Regions from separate parts of the Homo sapiens genome. Here regions 1, 2, 3 and 4 are each linked to region 5. Evidence: promoter capture Hi-C in 16 types of primary human blood cells and fetal thymus (Javierre and others, 2016). All regions are on one chromosome and are shown on one strand. The core of a region is centred on a gene start or on the middle of the fragment in contact, and the rest is flanking DNA. Distances in the headings are between cores, read along the strand shown.

Evidence for each region. Contacts are between HindIII fragments. The CHiCAGO score rates a contact against its expected background, and 5 or more counts as called.
Region 1: a fragment that was not itself captured here is called in contact with the fragment with the promoter of LINC02875 in region 5 in 2 of 17 cell types (naive B cells and naive CD4 T cells); the score reaches 5.5 in naive B cells.
Region 2: a contact is called between a fragment that was not itself captured here and the fragment with the promoter of LINC02875 in region 5, in 1 of 17 cell types (erythroblasts). The highest score is 6.3, in erythroblasts.
Region 3: a contact is called between a fragment that was not itself captured here and the fragment with the promoter of LINC02875 in region 5, in 1 of 17 cell types (monocytes). The highest score is 5.7, in monocytes.
Region 4: a fragment that was not itself captured here is called in contact with the fragment with the promoter of LINC02875 in region 5 in 2 of 17 cell types (naive B cells and naive CD8 T cells); the score reaches 5.5 in naive B cells.

The regions. Positions count from the first base shown.
Region 1 is chr17:61,007,021-61,009,983 of GRCh38, reverse strand. All of the region lies in intron 15 of BCAS3 (BCAS3 microtubule associated cell migration factor), which reads right to left. Among named protein-coding and RNA genes, the nearest start is that of BCAS3-AS1, 130 kb to the left of the region's middle. The HindIII fragment of the contact is 376 bases long and covers 1,330-1,705 here.
Region 2 is chr17:60,962,957-60,966,212 of GRCh38, reverse strand. All of the region lies in intron 14 of BCAS3 (BCAS3 microtubule associated cell migration factor), which reads right to left. Among named protein-coding and RNA genes, the nearest start is that of BCAS3-AS1, 170 kb to the left of the region's middle. The HindIII fragment of the contact is 4,425 bases long and covers 1-3,256 here.
Region 3 is chr17:61,805,437-61,808,289 of GRCh38, reverse strand. The region is part of intron 7 of BRIP1 (BRCA1 interacting DNA helicase 1); the gene reads left to right. Among named protein-coding and RNA genes, the nearest start is that of BRIP1, 57 kb to the left of the region's middle. The HindIII fragment of the contact is 2,450 bases long and covers 26-2,475 here.
Region 4 is chr17:61,026,562-61,029,626 of GRCh38, reverse strand. All of the region lies in intron 16 of BCAS3 (BCAS3 microtubule associated cell migration factor), which reads right to left. Among named protein-coding and RNA genes, the nearest start is that of BCAS3-AS1, 110 kb to the left of the region's middle. The HindIII fragment of the contact is 222 bases long and covers 1,489-1,710 here.
Region 5 is chr17:61,410,306-61,413,614 of GRCh38, reverse strand. LINC02875 (long intergenic non-protein coding RNA 2875) reads right to left here and starts at 1,864. Exons shown (of 1, transcript NR_160788.1): 1 at 335-1,864. RefSeq lists silencers at 858-917, 938-997, 2,518-2,687 and an enhancer at 2,567-3,149. The HindIII fragment of the contact is 15,544 bases long and covers 1-3,309 here.

The DNA of each region.
Region 1 (2,963 bases), core at 268-2,767, 400 kb after region 5:
TACAAGGAAAATAAACTTTCTAAGATTTACTGGGCTTTGACAAACTTGGACATTTGTGGAAAAGACATCAGCAGCAACTCCCAGGTAATGTGGCTGCAAAGTTAGACTCCCTTCTGTTTTATCTTTACCCTCTGTGCAGAAGCTGCCAGGTTGGTATTCTTAGCTTCTGAATGCAGTGATGTGAGAACATGTGAATGTGGCAAACTGCCAACTGCAAGAACTCTCTGAAGCTAGCAAAACTGAAATTGTTGAACATTTCAGATTATGTTAAATATTAAAGTTACTATCAGTGTATCTGTGTGTACATATGTATAGTTGTCTTTCTTCCGAGATACAAACAAGAAGAGGGAAAATAAAAAATGAATGTATTTGCATCCTTTCTACCTTTAAAAAATTTCCATATCTTACCATATTGTGAACCAAAGGACATAAAATCAGTTAAAATAACATTAAGGAATCAAATGACAATAGTTGTAGATCAGAAAGTACCTTAAAGGAGTGTCATACCAGAGAGAGAGAGAAATTTTTGTTACAGGTTTCTAAAAGTTATTGTTAATGGAGGACAAAGAAAGATTCTTTAGGAACAGAAGGTATGAGAAACTAAGACCTACAATGGAATAAAGTGGGTCAAGTGAAACATTTGGAGGATAAAAAGAGCACTGTCCTTCTGTTGTCATTAGACATATGAGGTAAGTATAGTATTAGAGTATTAGAGATAAGTATAGAAACGGCAAAGCTTCATTTGCAAAAAGAGCTAAAGGACACTAAGCAATGGTGCCCTGTGAAAGAGCAGTGTTATTAGGAGGTCCACATATCATCCCACTTATTCTTACCACAGACACAGACCTTATCCACTTTAGGCACTCCACTTTTCTGAAGGTTTACAATAGACACCTTCCTATAACTCAGTACTCTAGACTCCTACGACTGTATTAAATTCTGTTCTCATCACCTCTCCATACACTTATCTACAACACCCACTATTGTTCTAGGATATAAGCTCCTCACCTAGTGTCTTTGGTCTCCTATTTGGAACTCTTGCATTTTGAAATCGGATTACTGAGCCACACTGAAGCCCGAGGTCAATGTGACTCTCTGGCACTCCTCAGAAGACAATTCTACGGAAACAGCCCCAGTCCCAAATATCTCCTTTATTTTTGCCCTCTTTGCAACACTTTACCTATTCTAAGACATCATGTAGATGTTCTATTCCCTATATCATATCTTTCAAAAATAAAAACTAGATGATGAGTTCTACGGGGCCTTTTTTTTTATTTTTTTATTTTTTATTTTTTGGTAAACTTTTGTCTTCTACAGAAGAGCAAAGCTTTTGGACTGTTTTTAATATCTTGCTGTGGAATTGACAGGGATAAAAATCTAAAATATACCAAGGAGTTTAACTAAGTTAATTCTGTAGTTGAAAAGCTCTGACTTCTTGACTCTGTCAAAGAATACAATGGTAGCTTGTTTTGAAATAGTCACTGGAAATGTGGGCTCTGAAAAGTTAAAAACACTGCTTAGTTCTTGCTTGCCATCCAATTTAACATTAAAGTTTTTTCAACCAAACTCTCAATAGTTATTTAACAAAAAATACCCTGTGTAGAAGGGAATTTCCTGCAGGTGGGTTATTTTTGGTTGGGATGGGAGTGTGTGTCTCTCTCTCCATCTCTCTCTTCTCCCCTTTCCTAGATGAGAATGTCAAGCTTCCCAGCTGCAGTTCCAGGACTTTCACCCTCCTTTATGACCTTTTCTCAGGCATGTTCCAGTATAATCTGCAATCTACTCAAGTCGGAAAAGGAAACAGCAGCACCCTGGTGAGAAACAGTGCCTTCTGACCCACATACCAAACTGGGCGGAAGCAATGCTTGTTCACAGGAGCCAAGGAGAGTAGAACACACACTAAAAGAAAATGAATTTTATGTGTGTGTGTGTGTGTGTGTGTCGACACACAGACACACATTTTTAAAGACTATAAACACAACAAACAGTTTGGGTGACAAATAAAGACAGAAAATACTGAAGGACAATCCTGTGTGGGCACTGATTCATTTTGCCTATAACTTTTTTTTGGAGGCAATCGATGGTGAAGTAAAAACACTGCAATTTTTGATGCATTTCAAGCAAAAACACTTGTTGCTTTCTTTGAGTAAAAAGTTCACGTCACCATAGACATTACTGTAGGTACTTTGAGAAAGGGTGAGAAGGTAGGAAGATTAGAGAAATCTCCCACAAAATGGACTTGAAAACAAGAATCCAATCTTTCTTTTTTTTTTTTAAACAGGATGGGGATTGAGATTATTAATGATAGTGTCATCACTTCTCCCCACTACATACAAAGTAGCCTGCATGGAGCTTTGCCTAGGGCTTATTAAATGTCACTAGAATTAAAAGTGTACTTTCAGGAGAATTGAAACTGTATATATTTATGTACGAATACTCCAATAAATAATTTGCTAGGTAGTTTTCCTTTTCTATTGTGAATCCATTATCATCTGTTAATTATTATCTGAATGTGTTGGCTACTACAACATACAAATTTAAGTATTTTTCTTTTCTTAAAGCTAAAATAAACCCAATAAATTTAGAAATTTGATGCCTAAAAATTAAAAGTCATAAAGAAATAATTCCTGTTGCTAAAATTCTAAGTACAGCAAGTATAGTTGACACAACTCCAAAAGGTAACAAGGTGGGCCTAGAACAAGGAATATTGAAAACTTAGGAGGCAAAAATTCCCTAGAAAAGGAGATGAAATCAACAGTTAGAAACAATGTTTATAAAATGCAAGAACACAAAGGGAAAAATAATAGAACTAGCTGTGAGGAATTCTACTGAAATATAAAAAATCTGTCTGAAAAGTTTCATGCAATTAAGTTTCAATCACAGAGTCAACCCAAACTTGTAAGTTAAATGAACAAAATCTCCTCCCTCAAAGTGGTAAGTTCATTACTTATTATTCTTAGAGC
Region 2 (3,256 bases), core at 21-2,520, 450 kb after region 5:
CACATAGACTGAAAGTGAAGGGGTGAGAAAAGATACTCCACGTATCTGGAAACCAAAACAGAGCAGGAATAGCTATACTTACATGAAAAAATAGACAACCAATCTAAGATTATAAAGAGAGACAGAGAAGGACACTATACAATGATAAAGGGGTCAATTAAGTAAACATATGTAACAATTATAAATATTCAACCAACACTGGACATCTCAAGTCTATAAAGAAAATATTAATAGATCTAAAACAGAGATAGACTGCAATACAATAAAAGAAGGAGACCCCACTCCAGTAATGGACAAATCATTCAGACATAAAATCAACAATGAAACAGCAGAGTTAAACTACACACCAGATCCAACAAGCCTAACTACGTTTAGAGAACATTTTATCCAACTGCTGCAGCATACATTTTCTTTACTAGCACATGGGACATTCTCCAGAAGAGACCATATCTTAGGTCATAAAACAAATCTGAACAAAACTTTTAAAATAAAAATCATATCAAATATCTTTTCTGGCCACAATGGACTAAAACTAGAACTTAATAAGAAGAACTGGGGAAAATATATAAACACATAGAAATTAAAAAACATGCTCCTGAGTGACCAATAGGTCAATGAAGAAATTAATTAAGAAAGAAATTTTAAAATGTCTTGAAACAAGTGAAAATGGAAAAATGGAAATGCAATATATAGGCCGGGCGTGGTGGCTCATGCCTGTAATCCCAGCACTTTGGTAAGCCGAGGGGGCAGATCACTTGAGGTCAGAAGTTCAAGACCAGCCTGGCCAACATGGTGAAACTCCATCTCTACTAAAAATACAAAAATTAGCCAGGTGTGGTGGCGGGCGCCTATAATCCCAGTTACTCTGGAGGCTGAGGCAGGAGAATCACTTGAACTCAGGAGGCAGAGGTTGCAGTGAGCCAAGATTGCGCCACTGCACTCCAGCCTGGAGTGAGACTCCATCTCAAAAAAAAAAAAAAAAAAAATTCAATATACCAAAACCTATGGGATATAGCAAAAGCAGTACTAACAGGCAAGTTTGTAGCAATAAATGCCTATATCAGAAAAATGAAAGGCTTCAAATGAACAACCTAATGATATACCTCAAGGAACTAGAAGCAAGAACAAACCAAAGTCAAAAATAGTAAAGACAGAAATAATAAAGATCAGAGCAGGAACTAATGAAATCGAAGCTAAAAAGAAATACAGATCAATAGAACAAAACATTGGTTTTCAAAAATGTAAACAAAATCAACAAGTCTTGAGCTAGACTAAGAAAAAAGAGAGAAGACCTAAATAAATAAAATCAGAAACAAAGAAAGGACACATAACAACTGAGACCTCAGAAACACAAAAAATCATTAGAGACTACTATGAACAATTATATACCAACAAACTGGAAAACCTAGAAGAAATGGATAAATTTCTGGAAACATACAACCTCCAAGATTGAATCATGAAGAAACAGAAAACCTCAACAAACCAATAACAAGTAACAAAACTGAAGCTGTAATAAAAAGCCTCCATAAAAAGCAAGAAAATCCCAGGACTTCACAACTTCACTGCTGAATTCTACCAAACATTTAAAGAAGAATTAATACCAATTGTACTCAAACTCTTCAAAAAAATTGAAGAGGAGGACATACTTCCAAACTCATTCTATAAGGCCAGCATTACCTTGACAGTAAAATCAGATAAGGACACGACAACAAGAAAAGAAAACTACAGGCCAATATCCGTGATGAACATATATGTGAAAATCCTCAACAAAATACTAGCAAACAGAATTCAACAACACACTAAAAAGATCATTTATAATATCAAATGGGATTCATTCCAGGGATGCAAGGATGGTTCAACATAAGCAACTCAATAAACATGATATATCATATTAACAGAATCAAAAACAAAAACCACATATTTCAATAGATACTGAAAAAGTATTTTATAAAATTCAACATCCTTTATGATATAAAAAAACCCCTAATCAAAATGGGTATAGAAACAACATACTTCAAAATAATAAAGACCATATATGACAAATCCACAGCTACCATCATACGGAACAGGGAAAAAATGAAGGCCTTTCCTCTAAAGACTGGAACAAGACGAGTATGTCCACTCTCACTACGGTTACTCAACATAATACTGCCAGTCCTGGCCAGAGCAATTAGGCAAGAGAAAGAAATAAAGAGCAACCAAATTGGAAAGGAAGAATTCAAATCAGCCTTGTTTGCAGACAACATGATCTTATATCCAGAAAAGGCTACAGAACTCACCAAAAAATTGTTACAGCTGATCAGCAAATTCAGTAAAGTTGCAAGTTATAAAATGAACATACAAAAACCAGTAGCATTTGGCCGGGTGTGGTGGCTCACGCCTGTAATCCCAGCACTTTGGGAGGCCGAGGCGGGTGGATCATGAGGTCAGGAGATCGAGACCATCCTGGCTAACACAGTGAAAGCCTGTCTCTACTAAAAATACAAAAAATTAGCTGGGCATGGTGGCAGGCGCCTGTGGTCCCAGCTACTCGGGAGGCTGAGGCAGGAGAATGGCATGAACCTGGGAGGCGGAGCTTGCAGTGAGCTGAGATTGCGCCACTGCACTCCAGCCTGGGCGACAGAGCAAAACTCCATCTCAAAAAAAAAAAAAAAAAATCGATAGCATTTATATACATCAACAGGGAACAATCTGAAAAAGAAATCAAGAAAGCAATCCCATTTGTAATAGCTACAAAAATATAAAATTCCTAGGTCTCAATCTAACTAAAGAAGTGAAAGATCTATAAAAAGAAAACTATGAAATATGAAAGAAATTGAAGAAGACACAAAAAAATGGAAAGATATTCCATGCTTATGGATCAAAGAATACTGTTAAAACGACAATACTATCCAAAGTAGTTTACAGATTCAATGCAATCCCTATCAAAATTCCAACAACATTCTTACAGAAATAGGAAAAAAAAAATCTTAACATTTATATGGAGCCACAAAAGACCACAAATAGCCAAAGCAATCCTGAGCCAAAGGAACTGAAGGCATCACACTTTCTGACTTCAAAATTTACTACAGGTATATAATAACCAAAACAGCATGGTGCCGGCATAAAAATAGATACACAGACCAACGGAACGTACTAGAGAAACCAAACATACATCCATGCATTTACAGTCAATTCGTCTTTGACAAAGACGCCAAGAACATAAGAAGGTAAAAGAACAGTCTTTTCAATAAGTGGTGGTGGGATAACTGGATAG
Region 3 (2,853 bases), core at 1-2,500, 400 kb before region 5:
AAGTATGGGATTTGGTCTTAAAGCTTGGGATATTTAATTCCTTGAAATTAATTTCTGTTGTAGTCAGACATCTTAGTTTCTTCTTTTAAATCCTGCTACCAAAAATAGTCAAACTTGGATGATATCATATGAGGAGATAGAAGTGTTTAAATGGTTTAGTCTAATTAGATCTAATTAATATACTTTATATACTTAAAAACTTCAAAAGCAGATAGTTTATTTAGGCTGTCTGGGCAAAGTTTGAATTTTCTTAATTGAATGAGAAATATAATGATTATCCCACCTCATAATTCTGATAAATACAAACCCCTCTTTTAAAAGTTATACTAAATTATTAACTTTCAAAAGATGTCATTGGTGGTTTTGAAATTTTCCAGGGAAATTAGAATAATATGAATTTGGGCTTGGTGGAAATAGAGAATTCTTTCTTACTAAAGACTTATATGACTTTCAAATAATTTCTTTTGGCAGTATTAGTTTGGGAGCCTATGTTCTGGTGTGATAATTAGTTTACTCTAAAATTGAAGTTGCAAGTATGAAATTATACCCCCAAATCAGTGAACCATAAATTGATTACTATGAAGTGACCAATGATATTTTAATATATTTTTAGAGTTGTTTTGTTTTTCACTAGTATCTTATTAGAGTTGGTTCTACACAAAAAACTGTGAGCTATAGCCCCCAGAGTTTCATTTCATTGATATATCACCCCCTACCATATAATGTGAATTATTTTGTTTTATGCTTTTCTTCCTTAATACTCTCTTTTATAGATGAAAATTTATTTAAACTTTATTTAGGGATGGTCAAAAGATACTTTAACAGATATTCAAACGAGATTATAAAGTATAAGTAGTAAGGTGTTCCAATGGCAAAACTTGAGTGACTTGTTCCGAGCCAGGAGAGAATACAGAATTACTGAATCAAAGTCATTGTTGAAATCCTACAGTCATATTTATTTCCAAAGAGTTATTTCTAACTAACTGAGGAATTGTGAAATTCCTTTACTCTGTATATTAAAAAACTTCTCTTCAAGGAGAGATGAAAGTATTAAGTGTCAGGTGTTCAAAAATAATAAAATAAAGCTCTTTATGGTAAAACTCCATGAATTTCATGCATAAGTAGACTGCTTTCCATAGTGACTAAGTGATCTGCTGAATTCCTCAAATGCTTGAAATTTATTTTTTGGCTATATAGCCTATGCAAGAAGACTTGCTGGCATTGTCACCATATTTTTATCTTTTTTTGTTTTACTTGTTATTGGGGAAATTAATTATGTATTTGTAAAAAATACATTGGCTGGGCCTGATGGTTCATGCCTGTAATCCCAGCACTTTGGGAGGCAGAGGCGGGCACTTGAGGTCAGGAGTTCGAGACTGGCCTGGCCAACATGGCAAAACACATCTCTACTAAAAATACAAAAAATTAGCTGGGCGTGGTGGCGCATGCTTGTAATCCCAGCTACTTGGGAGGCTGAGGCATGAGAATCGCTTGAACCCAGGAGGCAGAGGTTGCAGTGAGCCAAGATCGCGCCACTGCACTGCAGCCTGGGCAACAGAGCAAGGCTCTTGTCTCAAAAACAACCAACCAACCAAAAACATACATTGGTAAAATACATTGGTAAAAGCAATGATAAAGTGTAAGATTGTGTATTGAAGGCAGACAGTTTCATTTTGTGTAACCTAGAATCCTACAGTGCTGGTTACGTTTTTATTGATCTTTACTCATAAGTTTGAATCATGTAAAAATAAAAAGGAATTCAGTAGACTTCAATGTTCCGAATTTTTCATTGGCCTTTAGTTTGTCTTAAAGTGAACAGGTATTTTATTTTTTAATATTAGTAATATGAATAATTGAAGATATCTGCTTGTGGTTTGTCTTGACCTAATTCTGCCTCAGAATGCTTACCTCACGGGCATACATGAACATCCTCTTTCTTGTTCTCAAGCCCTGTTAGTAATTTGGTATTGTAATGAAGGGCAATTACAAAGTCACCATAGGTGTCTGTGTTTACTTTGACTGAATTACCAAAGCGAAATGATAAATAGATAACTGACAGTTTGAATGGAAGTGTTTAAAGTGTGATAACACTTCAATTGACAGACTTCCTCAGGGTTGTGTTACACTGCTAAAATGGATGAGCTTTTCTGGTTTTGCTGTCAGCCTGCAGAGGGGTGTCATTCTAACTGCCCTTAAAGTGTAAACTTTCTGATTTTTTGGCTTGATCCAAGGCACATGTGTTTTTGTTCATTGTTTCTTTTACTAAAGTGCCCTTATACTGGAAAAGTATGCACTTATCTGTTAAAAGTTAATTTTTGTTTCAGTTAAGAAAAAATAATTTTAACTAGAGTCAGGAATGACAATTCTGAAATATTATTTTAGATATATATCTTTTTTTGGTTAAAATGAGACTTAATAGCTCATAGTCATAGATTCTAAAGGCACTTTAGTGATCATTTTGTATAAAGGTAAGCTTTCAGAATTGTATGGAAGAAGCTTGGAATGAAGAAATGGTGAATGTCCTATTATTAAACTCAGTCTGTATCAAACTGAGAGTATGAAAGATGATTGACACGTTTTTACCTGAATCACAGAATTTTAGAGCTGGAAGGAATTTTAGAGATGATATAGTCAGTGAGTCAGAAGGAATCTTACAAGCCTTCTGGTTCAAATATTCTTTTGATGCTTAGTCACATGAGAAAAATGGGCCCTGGAGTTTTCTCAGTCAGACAAGTAATTAGCAAGGAGGGACCAGAACCCAAATTTTCTGATTCCTCATCCATTGCTATTTTGGTTACACTAGAAACAAAATCCAAAGATGGCATTGAGGTAGGGAGAAGTTGACACAGTATG
Region 4 (3,065 bases), core at 350-2,849, 380 kb after region 5:
AGTAGCTTAAATACAACACTACATGCAAATTCAGAGCTTGATACATTCCTATTTATTTGTAATATTGAAAGCAAAATTCAGATTCAAAAATTCACACTGGGATTATTTATCTTAAATTCCTATGTTTAAAAAAGTATGTTATATGTGTAATTCTTTTGTATTATTTTATATAGTCATCCAAACTCAAATATCCTAAACTAACCTAGATGACACATAATACCAGGGAAGTCCAAAGTGACTAAAATGTTGAAGATGCATAGTTTACTTTCCAACAAGCTTATTTTGTTACCAAAGGGAACGACTGTATTTTATAACGACTCATCTGAAAGTATATGAATGTAAAGGACTAAACCTGTTTAATGGAGAATAAAGAACTAGCAGAAATTGTGATATACCAAAAGCAAATTCTTAGCTAAGTGTTAACGTTGCAACTCGAAACTAATAAAAAGTTTGTAGAAAATTTACATTTCATTTAAAAATTTCATTTTTCATCCAAAATACATATATTACCCTATAACTGGATATACTAAAAACATATTTATTTAGCATATAATGTTTTATTTCAGAACAGTACATAAAAACATTCTCAGGTTGAATGCTAAATAACATGGAAAAATAGCAAAAACTATTAAAACAAAGGAGCTCTTATAAACAAAATGGAAGAAGTTGTCAAATTTATATTCATTTGCTGCCTTAATTTGAGGTTTCATTAAGATCTTAATGGAAAAAACATGCACCACTGGGAAAGTAACATTTTAAAGGAGAACCTTTTAGTCTAGTATAAGTGACTAAAAACGAGTTTCTTGTGAGCTAACGATGGCATCAAACAAACCACAAAGCAGTCTTCTAAAAGACAGGCAATGATTTAAAAGTCTACTATATTTAATATATCCCTTTCTTTAATCTGGCTCTTTTAATCTTGTTTCAACCTCAAATCATTTCTGGTTGACAAGTGCTTTTGCTTAAATGTGAGGAGCACGTAAGCTGTTGAAGGAATGAACTTTACTTACTTAACATACAACAGTTGTTATTCCATCTTTTACTTCTATGCAAAACTTCAATCTTTATTAACATACTACAACTCTTTGCTTTGTACTTAGAAGAAGAATTTATCCTAAAATGGAATTTAATTCTAAGTTTACAAAGAAATTTTGTCATATGTTGAATGTGGCATTTAAAATTCACTGATCACTGGAAGGCTCATAAGTAAGATCTGTGTATCTTATTTGTTTTTAGAAGACATCTGGTTAACAAAATGAATAAAGATCAACTTTCATGAGATTTATATTCTTGTATATCCTGAATTTGTTTAGAATAGTTTTGCAAACTGTGTCTAATTATAATTTTCAAGGAGGAAAATTTTATGTTGATTTGTTTTATGTCACCTATTATTAAGCAATAACAAAATTTTCAGATCTTCCTATGGCATATAAACATTGAAATAAGTTTGTGTCAAATAATAATTAACCTTAAAGAACTATTTAAGCTTCTTTCTGTCCAAGAGGAAAAAACGTTGGAATGTTTTTTTCTAGTGTAATAGAACAGTATGAACAATCCCCATTTAGCAGTTATGAGAACTACACATATGTGCAGAACTCTTTTCAGTATTCTGACTAAATTAATAAAATTAATATAGCTTACATTTCTCAAAACTTCGCACTGGTTAACATATCCTTAAAAGTGAAAAACATAATCTAATTTAAATAAGCTTCTTTTGAAACACGGTATTTTTCCCTGAAACAGGAAAAGAAACAGTGGTAGCAGCTAACATTTACTGCACATTTACTATGTGCCAGGCACTGTTATATACTAACACATACTGAGATATGTATCAGCTTATTTAATACTCATAGTGAGTCCATTACATAGGTACATTTAATACATAAGGAAATAAGAAATAGAAAGGTTTTAGAAAACTCCCCCCAAATCATATAGCTAGTAAGTGTGTCAATTGGGATCTAAGACCCAGGCAGTCTGACTCTTAACCATTAAACATTTTATACCATTCTTAACACATTCTACTTCCTATCTTTACATGAAAGTATTAAATATATTCGAATTCTTTTCTATGACCTTCCTGTCTAAGACTGACAAAGCTGTATTCTGTGCACTGACATGAAAGAATTTACCAAATAATTAAGCTATGATGAGTATGTGCTAATAATTCAAAATAATAAATTATTTAGGAGGTTTTATGTAAAATATATATTTTGTCATTATGTAGCTCCTTAAATACCTAAACTATTCAAAAACAGAACTTTTGTCTCTTTAGGACCAAATAAAATGCAACAAAAACTTTATAAGGTGCTTTTGGTATACCTTAAATATATTTATATTTCAAAATAAATCATGTCCTCAAATGCTATGCATGATATGTAGGTAACTTCTAATGCCATAATACTCAAAGCTTTAAACTTGGGTGTTAGCCTTGTCTTGTAATATTTACGAGCATTATGAGAGAATTCTTCTATTTAAAAAAAATTCATCTGTGGTTTTTTTTTTTTTGTTTTTTACTTTTTAAAGAATGAAGTGAAACCAAGAAAACCACTTTTCTAAAGCTTAAATATCAACATTCATGTTCCATCTACAAATTATTCAGTAACTTGGTGCATCTATCTGTGATCAGGCCATGCAACTGGAAACAAAACTACAAAACAAATTACTTTTTGAGAGTACAGCAAATGAATGAGGCATGCGGGACTGAACTGGAACTCACCATGGGGCTTTTATGGAAAAACACCCCGCTCCAAAGAGATAAGGCCTTCATGGAAAAGGGGGAAAAATGCACAAAAAATTAGAGAAAAACTCATTTAACATTAGCAAATACAAGTATATCATACTGTTATAGAGTATGGATAAAAATAACTAAAAAATTAGTAATCATTTACAATTCTGCTGTACATACTGTCTGATATAACCAATAAACAGAATGATGTGTAGTAACAAGGCCCTTAATTTTCAGAGTTAGAGATTCAAAATTTTCTATTTCTCCCCCTTTTCTGGAGCACCCCTGTAGTATTTCTAAGTTAAAATAAAATAAAATTCACTGCTGAAGCCCTTTAAAA
Region 5 (3,309 bases), core at 615-3,114:
TCACCAAAGATTTGGTCCTATTCTCTGCTACACTGTACTTTGAAAGAGAAAAGAGCTGAGAGCCTAGTGCAGGGACGACATCTGGCCTGGGTCCCATCACCCAGCCGGTGACTGTATTGCAGTGGAAATGACCCTCGACTGGTGTTAACTGGGCTGCTTTCTAGCCGTGTGCCCTTAGGAAACGTGTGTAGGGTTAATCTCTGAGGGTGCCAGAGCTCATCTGGGGACATAAAAGGTCAGCTGGAAACAGGCTTCTAAGCCCCACCCCCTCCAACTCTGGCATTCCCCAGCCAACGGGTCTTACATCCCCAGCCTCCCATTGAGACTTGACCCAGAGCATTGGTGGCTTTTAATCCAAGGGCGAGATTCTCAGGCTGACCCCTGGGCCCTCCCCAGTCCCCACCACCTCCCGCTGGAATAACGCAGCCCAAAGCCTCCCCTATGGAGGCAGGAACTTAGGTGAGCAGCTCCACAGGGCACATCCTGCCCTCGACCCTGAAGACCCCGCCCTGAAGAGCCGGATGAGGGTGGTGAGGAGGGCGGGTCGGAGCCGAGGGGGCCCTCTCCGCTGGAGGAGCGCTGGATCCCCGCCGATCCTTCCCCTATCCCGCCCGTAAGTCCTCACCGTCGAGTGGGCCCCGCGCTCCTAGGGCCGTGCGCCCCGCGCGCTGCGGATGCCAGCCACAGCCCCCTTCGGAGGGGCCCAGGAGGCCGGAGGCCGGCGGCTCACTTCCCGCAGAGAGAACGCGAGGGCCCAGCCCCGCGGGCGCGCAGAAGAGGACAAGCTGGGGTCTGCAGCAGCCTGGAAGGTCGCCGAGCTGGCGCTGCCGGGCGGTTCTGGCAGCAGGGGAGAAGGCCCCACCCCGAGCCTCAAGCCCTCCGCTCAGTGTGTCCGCAGCCCCGGAGTCCCTCGGTCCCTCGGCGGCCTGTGCCGGGCTCCGGACCCGGCTCTGCCTGTGTCGGTGGCTGTGCCTCCGTGCCCCGCTTGCCGGGGTCCGCAGTCTATCTCCCGCTCTCGCCCGAGGCGGGCTGTGAGGCCGCGGCCCGGGCCCTGGCCTGCAGCGCCATCTCGTGGACCTGTGAGGAGTTGCCGAGGCCCGAGGCCTGGGCGGGCTCTGGGTTCGCTCCCACTCGTGCTCCCGGCGGGGAGCTGCGGGAGCTGCCAAGAGGACTCGCTGGGAAACCAGGCGCGGCCGTCAGCGCTGGAAATCGGTGCTTCCGGAGTGGGTTTGGGGTCCCCGGCCCCATCCAATAGGAGGAACAGATATGCGCCTCCGGAGAGCCCAAAAGGAAGTCCAAGTGCAAAACCGCCCCGGGCGTGCTCGGACACGTTCAGCGCCCGGCAACCAGCCTCCACCCCGAAGGCGCTCCCGGGAGGGTGCCCAGGAGACCCGGAGCTCGGGCTTCCTCCCAAGAGGGCGGGGGCTCCCTCCGCTGCCGCCCTGTCCTGCGAGCAGGGAGCGCTCGGCCTCCTGCGGGATCCCGCCTGACCGCCGGTGCTCCGCACCTCGGGGCCAAGGACAGCGAAGGAGGGGGAGGAAGCGGGACTGGATTTTGGGTCCTTCCCAGAGCGGAGGAAGGCAGGCTCGGGGTATAAATCCAGGGCTCGTAGAGGCTGTCCCTCAAGGGGCCGTCCCATAACCGGGAAATAGGGGGTCCCGGCCTCAAGCCGGGGCGCTTGAGCGTGAGAGTCCCGGGGAGAGCGAGGCTGAGCGCGCCCCTCCCGCCCCAGGAGCACCCCACGCAGGAGTTCGCGGTCAGCTGGGGAGGCGGGCCCGGGAGCTGCGGCCTTCGGGAGGGCAGGGCCAGGCCATACCGGTGGCTCCGGTTCTCCACAGCAGCGGCGGGGGAGTGGAGGAGGAAGGGCTTGAGGGCTCGGAAGATTCCGATTAACCCGAGAGGAAATGAGGTCCCCTGGGCCTTGGGATCCGGGCGGCTTAGCCGCTAGGGGTCTCTCGGAGCCCCTGCACTCACACCCTCCATCTCCGAGTTCCTCCGGGAATCGCACGCGCCACCCCACACCGACACGCACAATTCCCTCTTAGACCTCACACGCCCCACACGCGAGAGCCCGAGGCGACAGGCTAGGCCGCCAGCAGGTATCGCCATCGTCCCAGCACTGGCCCTCCTGCCACGCGTGTGCCGGCGGCTCTGCCGTCCAAGGACCCCGGGCCAGGCCCTGAAGGGTTAAGGAGGCCTTGCGGCACCGGAGCGGCGGGTACGCCGGGCGCCTAGGCTAATTGGCGACCCCGGGGACAATGAGGGCTGGGAGGCCGGGGAGGAGGGTGGCTTAATTGGACATGGGAGTGGCCTAGCCTTTGTCTGGGACAAGGCCCAGCCGCCGGCCGCGGGTTCCCGCAGTCGCACTCAGGCTACCAGCTGGGGCCCCGCGGAGCGCCGGGTGGGCGACTCGGAGGGGACATGTGCGGCGGGAGGTGGCGGCGAAAGTGGTGTGGGGGATCTCGAGGCCCTGGAGTCCCACCCCACCCCACCCGGGTTGCTGCAGCAACGACGCGGCCTAAAAACGGCCGCGACTAGGCCGCCCCGCCCGGCCTTCGCAGGCACCCGCCTCCCCCGCGCCCATGCCCGCACCCGCACCCCTCCCGCGACCCTAAGTCGGTGCTGCCCCCTGGTGTCCGCAGCCCTGTACGTAGGCCGCCGCGGGCGCGCAGCCGACTCTCGTCTCCCTCCTAATGTCCTGCTGAAAGTGAGAAGCCGCGGGACGCAAACGCGCCGCTCCTCTAGGAGTATGAGAGGCGTTTCAGCCCAAAGCGACCTCCAGCAAACGCGCTGCCCACGAGCTTCTATTTAGGCTGGAAAACGGGCTTCTCTGTCCCTGTCGGGTTCCCGGACCTGCCCGCAGGTCTGAGGCAGGGAAGCCAGAACCCACCCTCTGGGGTTGGGATACGTTCTACTGCAACCTCCCACTCGTGCACTGGCTGAGTCCCCTCCCTGCTCCAGCCGCATTCGGCGTGGCCTGGGGGCAGCACCATCCTGAAGAGGCGGGCCTGGTTCTCTCTCTCTCGCTCCTTGCAAATGTATCGGCCCACAAAGGCGTCCTGGGAGTCTGGGGGCCCAACTGTCCATTCCACCTTCACCATCACCGTTCCTCCATCTCAACGTCCCTGGTGTTTTGGAAGCCAGCACCCTCCCCAAGCCCCACCCTGTGCAGTGCCCAAGGTGGGCAGCCTGTTGGGGCAGGGCGTTCAGGGTCCCCAAGGCTTAAAGAGGAGAGAACTGGGAAGGAGGTGGCGTGCTCGGTGACCGACCAGACCCAGGGCTAAAGGAGTGCCCGCCCAGCTCCCACTG